Regions from separate parts of the Homo sapiens genome. Here regions 1 and 2 are each linked to region 3. Evidence: promoter capture Hi-C in 16 types of primary human blood cells and fetal thymus (Javierre and others, 2016). All regions are on one chromosome and are shown on one strand. Each heading gives the region's core, a stretch centred on a gene start or on the middle of the fragment in contact. The rest is flanking DNA. Distances are from core to core; before and after follow the strand shown. Region 1 overlaps SLC22A16 (solute carrier family 22 member 16). Region 2 overlaps REV3L (REV3 like, DNA directed polymerase zeta catalytic subunit). Region 3 holds the start of GTF3C6 (general transcription factor IIIC subunit 6).

Evidence for each region. Contacts are between HindIII fragments. The CHiCAGO score rates a contact against its expected background, and 5 or more counts as called.
Region 1: a contact is called between a fragment that was not itself captured here and the fragment with the promoter of GTF3C6 in region 3, in 2 of 17 cell types (M2 macrophages and M1 macrophages). The highest score is 6.7, in M2 macrophages.
Region 2: a fragment that was not itself captured here is called in contact with the fragment with the promoter of GTF3C6 in region 3 in 1 of 17 cell types (naive CD4 T cells); the score reaches 5.1 in naive CD4 T cells.

What each region holds. Positions count from the first base shown.
Region 1 is chr6:110,430,755-110,433,454 of GRCh38, forward strand. It overlaps SLC22A16 (solute carrier family 22 member 16), which reads right to left. Exons shown (of 8, transcript NM_033125.4): 7 at 417-516. Among named protein-coding and RNA genes, the nearest start is that of DDO, 17 kb to the left of the region's middle. The HindIII fragment of the contact is 816 bases long and covers 967-1,782 here.
Region 2 is chr6:111,478,505-111,481,204 of GRCh38, forward strand. All of the region lies in intron 1 of REV3L (REV3 like, DNA directed polymerase zeta catalytic subunit), which reads right to left. Among named protein-coding and RNA genes, the nearest start is that of REV3L, 3.4 kb to the right of the region's middle. RefSeq lists an enhancer at 138-862. The HindIII fragment of the contact is 2,284 bases long and covers 267-2,550 here.
Region 3 is chr6:110,957,331-110,960,030 of GRCh38, forward strand. It overlaps GTF3C6 (general transcription factor IIIC subunit 6), which reads left to right and starts at 1,376. Exons shown (of 6, transcript NM_138408.4): 1 at 1,376-1,496; 2 at 1,842-1,922. The coding sequence starts at 1,440. RefSeq lists an enhancer at 1,249-1,698. The HindIII fragment of the contact is 8,604 bases long and covers 1-2,700 here.

The sequences.
Region 1 (2,700 bases), core at 125-2,624, 530 kb before region 3:
CATAATCTTTTTGGAGCAGGCAGCCCCCAGAATTCGCCTTGCCCAGCAGGCACTCAGTGGGAACACAGAGGCAAGGCCAGGCCAGCGGGTGGGGGCAGATGCCCTGAGGAGGACAGAGACCAGAGCTCTCCCTTCCCCAGGCCTGGCTTCCAGGCAAGGGTGAGGACATGCCCTTTTGTGGCAGGCAGAGTTGTAATGAACAGCTCAGCAGTGGTGGAAGGCCACCAATGGCCAATCGCACAGCAGCCACCACCCTACTCACCAACTGGCCAGCTGTTGGTAATGGGGTTGTTTCTACAAACCCCATTAGGAAATGATGTACTGGCTTTCAGTAAATAACAATAGAGAAGTTGCTAATAGGCAATTAGAAACTGCCTCCGTGCCCCCTTGGGGAGGGTCTGCAAACTGAAGCACACCTGTGGTATGAAGATCCAAATGCTGCTGAGGTCCACAGAGAACGGCGCCAGGATGCTGGCCAGGCGACACACCATGCTGCCGCTTCCCACAGCCAGCGATCTGGAAACAGAGGAGAGAGGCTGAGACAAGTAAGGCACAAGTGACCCAGGGATTGAGGGACCTGCTTCCTGCAGCTCCTTTCCCACGCTCCCCAGCAAGGATAAGGGTGGTCAGGCAGCGCATTACAACGTTTCAGTCAACCTCGGTGGCCCCGCGAGATTATAATAGCACATTTTTACTCGACTTTTTCTATCTTTCAATATGTTTAGATACACAAATATTTACCATTGTGTTACGACTGCCTGCAGTATTCAGTGCAGTAACATGCTGTGGAGGGTCACAGCCGAGGAGGAATAAGCTGTGCCACATAGCCTGGGTGTGTAGTATGCTGGGCCATCTAGGTTTGTGTAAGTTCACTCTATGATGTTCTGACAACCACGAAATCACCAAAGGATGCATTTCTCAAAACGGTGCCCATCATTAAGCAACACATGACCGTAAAAAAACGTAAGCTTGAAAATAATTTTACTTAAATTTTTCAAGAATCACAATACCTACATTTTGTGAAACAGTGGTGTATATAAGCATGCACATAATTCAAGACAATTCATGACAAAAAAGAGGTAGGAGTGTGGAGGTAAGCCATTCTTCATCTGCTGTGCAGGTGAGGCCCTTGTGTGTACTGATCCAGCCTAACATTAAGAATAATAAGGTCTTCTAGAGCAGGAATTTGTTTCAGGTAGGGAGTGGGAATTTGAGAGAACAAAGTATCTGTATACCTGTGTACTGTTCTATTTCAACTTTTTAGAGTCAAGGAATATCTTAATGTGCTTTTCTTTAAAGGTTACTTAGAGAAAATGTATAGAATGTTAGTAAGGAAAGACTGTCCTTTTATGTGAGTAAGTACCTCTATAAATTAACGGTGCCTCATCTTTTCCAGTCACACACATTTATAAAGAACTGATAAAAAGTATGGCATTCTTCTGAGAAAGAAATCATACATAAGTAAAATTTTGCATGCAGTGTTAGGGTGTTTAGGGAGCTCATAGAGTTGGTTAAAGATTTCCTGTATTAAATATTTACATATTGGATTTTTTTGAGGTCATGTACCTGTGGTTGTAAACCAACAACCAAGCCAACAAAGAAAAGATCTTAAAAAATACTATAATATTCATAATTGCAATGCACATTGACATTATTTGATGGGATTGTCACCTTCTTAGCATATAACATGCATTCACTCAGCACATGTGTGTCAAGAGTCTAATATGTGCCAGGCACTGCATGGATCTGGTCCAATCTGAATTCTGAACTGGGAAAATCTGAAGCTTTTCCTGGCTGAGCAGAAATCCACCTGAGAGGCCAGAAGGGTCCCACAGGACATGACAAAGATATTCTCCCTGATTTAGAGCAGCTTCTTCCCTGGGTCAGCCACAACGGAGCCAAAGCCACAACGCAAGTTGGCAATTATGCAACTTCACTCTCTATTGCATTCAACTAGTCTCCACCATTGTCAGCCTGTAAGTGCTAGAATGTAATCTGTTATTCTGCCTGTCTGCTACTGTACATCTGTGCAGGGCTGCCACTTTCACAATATGATCTGAGAAGAGTCCACAAAGCCCTTACCCCAAAATACCTTCTTCCCCTCTGCTACTAAAGCTCTACTGCTAGCAACTTATCCCCCGCTAATGTTAAGCACTGTCTCCCATAAAAATTCTCATGTATTTCACTGGGTGACAGATAGGGCCAAAAGATGTGGATTTGAGTTCTGATGGGTCACTGACTAGCCAGATGCCTTTGGCCACGACCCTAATCTTGTGTGAATTCCAGTTCCACAACCTGTAAAATGGACAGAAGATGTATTTATTATTAGACTGCGAGAGTGGTCTAATAATAGCACTCTGGGTGACCTAGAGGGGAAGTATGGAGGAAGAAGAAAAACTCTACTCTCAGACAACTGGGCTAATAGACAATTACATAGGGAGTTATTCCTCTGCTATTCTATACCCCTGGTCACATATTAGTCTGATAAACTTTTTTCTTAGATATATATGTGTACCTACTCTATCTATCCATTCTTCCATCCCTCCATCCATCCATCCATCCATCTAGATATCCATTAATCTATCTACAGTCAACACAAATGTACTTACCCATCCTGGTCCACAGGGCTGCCTGCCCTAGCATTTCAGCAGGCAGGTGTGTGGGCATGGAAAATTCCTAGGGAAGGATTTATGCTATCTC
Region 2 (2,700 bases), core at 159-2,658, 520 kb after region 3:
AAATAGCTTAGTAAAAAACAGACTATGAACAAAGCAGATTCTATTAGAGAAACTTTTGAACCTGAGTTGTTGATACACGCTAATTTTCAAAATTATTCTTATTGCAAATTTAACTCCAATTTACCAAAAAAAAAAAAAAAGGTTATTCTGGTAGTTTCTTATATTTAATTTTATAAAATATAAACAATGAGAATATATTTATAATTGGATAAGCATCTACATAAACTTATATAGCATTTCAGAATTATCAATTCCTTATGTTGAAAAGCTTGATTTCATGGCTAACAGTATCTAGAACAATCTACCAAAATATTCACTAAGCTAGAGGAAGTGGCAGAGTTCCTTAGAGTAATCTTAAAGACAAGCAGCTCCCTCTATAGTCTGTCTGGCCTACTTTGTTTAATTCCTTGCTTTGTGGACATCCCACACTCTTCTATTTACTCCTACTCTGCATCTCAGCAGGGAAGCTCTTTGAAAGGATAGTTCTGTTTAACCTGGTGCTGAGGAAACTGTGAGAGCTGTCTAAACTCAGCATGAAGTGAGTTACATCAAGCAACTAAGCAAAAGTCGAGATGTGGAAAATGGACAGCTTCCCAAGTCCACCTCAGTCAAATCCTTAAATGAAGCCTGATGATTTCATTTGTAGTGAATCCTCTGAGTGGTCACACCTATATTCAAATCTAAATGAAAAAACATTGTCCTATACTTTATTCACAACCTTTCTTCCCTCCATTAAAACAAGTTACCAAAATGTTGTTCTAAAAGAAAAAATTAACAATTTATTCTACAAATGATACTGCTCAATTTGATTATGTCAAAATAATGTTCAAGACATTTTAAAAACTAGTTAAAAAAATGGAGAGGAAATTTGTTTTTGTTTTTTAAAAAATTCCATAACTCAGATGAAGAAACTTTAAGTGATTCCCTTAGGAATCAATATCCTCAGTTGGCAAGGGATTAAATCAGTCAGGATTTACCATTCAAATCTGAATATCCCCCCCCGCCTTTTTTTTTTTTTTTTTTAAGACAGGCTCTTGCTCTGTTGCCCAGGCTGGAGTGCAGTGGCGTGATCTTGGCTCACTGCAGCCTCAACCTTCTGGGCTGAAGCGATTCTCCTGTCTCAGCTTTCCAAATAGCTAGTACTACAGGTGCACACCACCACGCCCAGCCAATTTTGTTTGTTTGTTTGTTTGTTTTGTACAGACTATGTCGCCCAGGCTGGTCTCCAACTCCTGGGTTCAAGCGATCCTCCTGCCTCTGTCTTCCAAAGTGTTGGGATTACAGGCATGAGCCACAGCACCCAGCCCTGAATATCCCTCTTTTTAAAAATACCTTTTCAAATTTCACCAACTTAAGACATGGGAGCTTTTAAACCCAAAACACTTTATTTCTTAAATTACTCAAGATACGTCCTCAAAACACAGAACAATCAAAAGTCAACTGGACTGTTTTCTAAAGCAGAAAAATGCTTTTCAGGCAATAATAGAAAAACTAAACTAGTAAAAGGGTATTAATCCAATCAGTTCAGAATTTGTAATATAATTTTGAAACGGCCACTTCATTTGAGAAAAAATATCTTTGGTTGCTATTTTTCAGGATCTCATTTGTAAAGCAAAGTCAATTTTAAAACATTTTCTCTCCAAACCAAAGTAAAGCATTAAGGACCTCCCAAAGTAATTCTTATATATGAAAAAAGTATGTTTATGCTATTTTATGTAGCATAGGTTTATCATGTGTTACACATTTTTATTACCTTATTTTACTTGTTAGTAAAGATATAAACTATAAAGATATAATACAAACCATGTTTATATCTTTGCATTATGTTTACATCTTTACTTTCAAATAAATCTGTCTTCATTAAAAATTCTAGCATTCAGAGTTTTACTAAGTCAGACTGGCCTCTCTTTTATATTAATAATTTTCAAGTTTTATTTTATTGGACTAGTTTTCCTTGGGGAGATAATTCAAAAGCAGGTAATTCTGCAGTTTTTGATTATGTTTAATTAATATTAATCTCACTGGGAGTTTCTGACGTGCTAATAAAAATGCTGGCTTGGTTTATGAAAAGTGTAAACTCTAAATGTATGCCAATGACTTCAAATTTTTTCTTGTTGAAACAAACATTTTGTTGGAAACTGTGAACTACATGGCAAATTCAATTTGATAATCCTTAACAATTTAAAATTTGACTTTCTCTGTATCAAGTTTTATGTCTTTCAATGTACATATAAAAAGTGTTACTTTTTAATTCATTTAAAATATAAATTTCAAAGTATGTACCAAAAAAAAAACCCCAATGGGGGTTTTTAGTCTTTGGTTTTTTCGTTTTTGTTTTTTTTTTTTTTTTTAAGGTGCTGGTAATCTATTGTGGGATGTCCATGAAGGATTAAATAGGAAATAGTTAATGTGTCTTTTAAAAAATATTCAGGAAAACAACAGTATATAATATTCTTTATTTTTTAAGGAACATTTCCTCACGTAATAGAATTACATTAGCTTACAGTGAAACTCATTTATTTCCACAAACGAAACTTTCCTATACAACAAAGCTTGACTATCTCTCAGGAAAACATATTTAATGACTTGTGTGGAGGAGAAAAAATTATGTGTGGAAAAGTAACTCAAACCATACAAGCTGTAATACACAGAAATGCCACAGTATATCCTATTAGCATGTCACTTTATGATTCGGAAATT
Region 3 (2,700 bases), core at 126-2,625:
GAGTTTGAGGGTACAGGGAGCTACGATGGCGCCACTGCACTCCAGGCTGGGCGACAGAGCCAGACCCTGTCACAAAAAAGAAAGGAAAGAAAGAGAGAAAGAAAGAAACAAACAATGAATAAAAGAAAGAGAGAAAGAGCATCATACTAAAAAATTTATATATTACTACTAATAATAGATTAAATGCACTTTAAATGCTTACTATGTGCTGAATACTGGGCTAAATTTATTTTATATGTATTGTCTCATTTAATCCTCACAACCACCAATCTGCCCAAAGCCTTGCTGTTAATAATGCAGCAGAACTTGACTGGTATTAAAATCCAAAGCTCAGGCTGGGGACGGTGGCTCACACCTGTAATCCCAGCATTTTGGGAGGCCCAGGCAGGGGGATCGCCTGAGGTCGGGAGTTCGAGACCAGCCTGACCAACATGGAGAAACCCCGTCTCTACTAAAAATAACAGAATTCGCCGGGCGTGGTGGCGCATGCCTATAATCCCAGCTACTCGGGAGGCTGAGGCAGGAGAATCGCTTGAACCCGGGAGGTGGAGGCTGCAGTGAGCCGAGATTGCACCATTGCACTCCAGCCTGGGTAACAAGAGCAAAACTCCATCTCCAAATAAATAAATAAATAAAAATCCAAAACTCACGATCTTAACCACTAGATCACGCTATCGCAAGTACGAAGACCGTTTCTTTCACAATCACAAACATCTATGGGATACTTCTGAAAATTCTGTTCAAACTTCTCTTGCCCAGGTCTCTGTGTTCCTATAACAATGTGTATCTCTTACAGCACTTGCTTGGATCCATTTATGTACCTCTCACAGATCTTATGCTCCTGCAGGCCTGAAACTTAAGCCCACTTTCTATTTTTCATAGCTCCTGGTGCAGTGCTTTTTACTGTGTAGGCGCTCATTAGTATTAAACTGAATGTGCCTTTAACTTGGCTTGGGGTACGTTGAATTGAGGATGAGCGCTCACACAATATTAAGAATTTCTTTCCAAGAAATGTGCTCGGGTCAAACACAAGGCCTTTCTGTCCATGATCCGCCTGAAACCATGGTTTCCTTGTTTTCGCCTTTATCCCTTCTGCCTTGCCAGTCCTCCCCGCCAGCGGGGCCGAGAGCCCGGCGACTCTTGCGTGACCGAGCGGGCTCCGCTGCCTACGGCAGCCCACCCCCAGCCCCTGCTCTGAGGCACCGAGAAACGAGGAGGCCCGTGGCGAGTCTCCACGTGGGTACCGGCGCTCTCGGCGCCCGTAGCCACCCGCCCGCCGGAAGCCGACATCTCGAGTTCTGGCAGAAGCAATTTGCGCGGCGAGGAGCGGAGCGGCAGGAACCCAATAAGCTGCTTCGCCTCGGAGCTGAAGCCCGTACTCAAGATGGCGGCTCCGGGCGGGCGTGGCCAGTGACTAGAAGGCGAGGCGCCGCGGGACCATGGCGGCGGCGGCGGACGAGCGGAGTCCAGAGGACGGAGAAGACGAGGAAGAGGAGGTAGTAAGCGCTACGCCAAAAGCCTGCACCGCAGTGGCGGTGATGCCTGTGCTGGCTGTGTGTGGGGAAGGGAGTTGGGGAGCTGCGGGCCGGAGGGAGGCCCCACTGCTCCTCACCGGCTTCTTGCTCCTGGGCGCGAGGAGCCGGGCAGCTTGGGACCTTAGCCCTAATCGTCACCCCGTACTTGGGATGGGAAGTACCGGGAAGTTACCTTAGGTAGCGTAGTTTCCTCTTGCTGAAAACAGGGTCCGGTTTTCACAAATGTGGGAAATTTGGCTTCTTTTGCTAATTGCTCCCTCTTGGCCGCTCGCGTGCTAGCATGTTAACCCCTCTTTCTTTCACCAGGAGCAGTTGGTTCTGGTGGAATTATCAGGAATTATTGATTCAGACTTCCTCTCAAAATGTGAAAATAAATGCAAGGTTTTGGTGAGTTTTCTAGACTTGGGGGGATTGTTCTAGAGTGTCTTAAATGTAAAACAAGAATCAATGGTGAAATACCTATCCGCAAGTATTGATATATTTATTTCACCTTACAAAGTAGTGAACTCTAAGGATAAGAAGTATACTAAGTATAATTAATTAATATGTAATTAAGTATAATGTAGAAGTACAGCGGGGACTATGGGAGCAGATAGGAGAAAATGGCTAACTTTGCTTGCCTGTTTGAATGTGTGGCTGAAGAGAAAGTTACAGATTTGGAGGAAGTAACATTGTGATATGGAACCGTACATATATTCCTGTATTCTCAGCACTTTGGGAGGCAGAGGTGGGAGGATCACTTGAGCCCAGGAATTGGAGACCATCCTAGGCAACATAACGAGACCCCTTCTCTAAAATAATAATAAAAAAAAATGGCCAGGCGCGGTGGCTCACGCCTGTAATCCCAATACTGGGAGGCCGAGGCGGGTAGATCACGAGCCCAGGAGTTCGAGACCAGCCTGGCCAACATGGTGTAACCCCGTCTCTACTGAAATACAAAAATTAGCCAGGCATGGTGGTGGGCGCCTGTAATCCCAGCTACTCGGGAGGCCGAGACAGGAGAATCGCGTGATCCCTGGAGGCAGAGGTTGCAGTGAGCCGAGATCGCGCCACTGTACTCCAGCCTGGGCAACAAAGGGCAAAACTCCATCTCAATAAAAAAAAAAAATAATAATAATAATAAATTAGCTGGGGATGGTGGCATGCGCCTGTGGTCCCTGCTGCT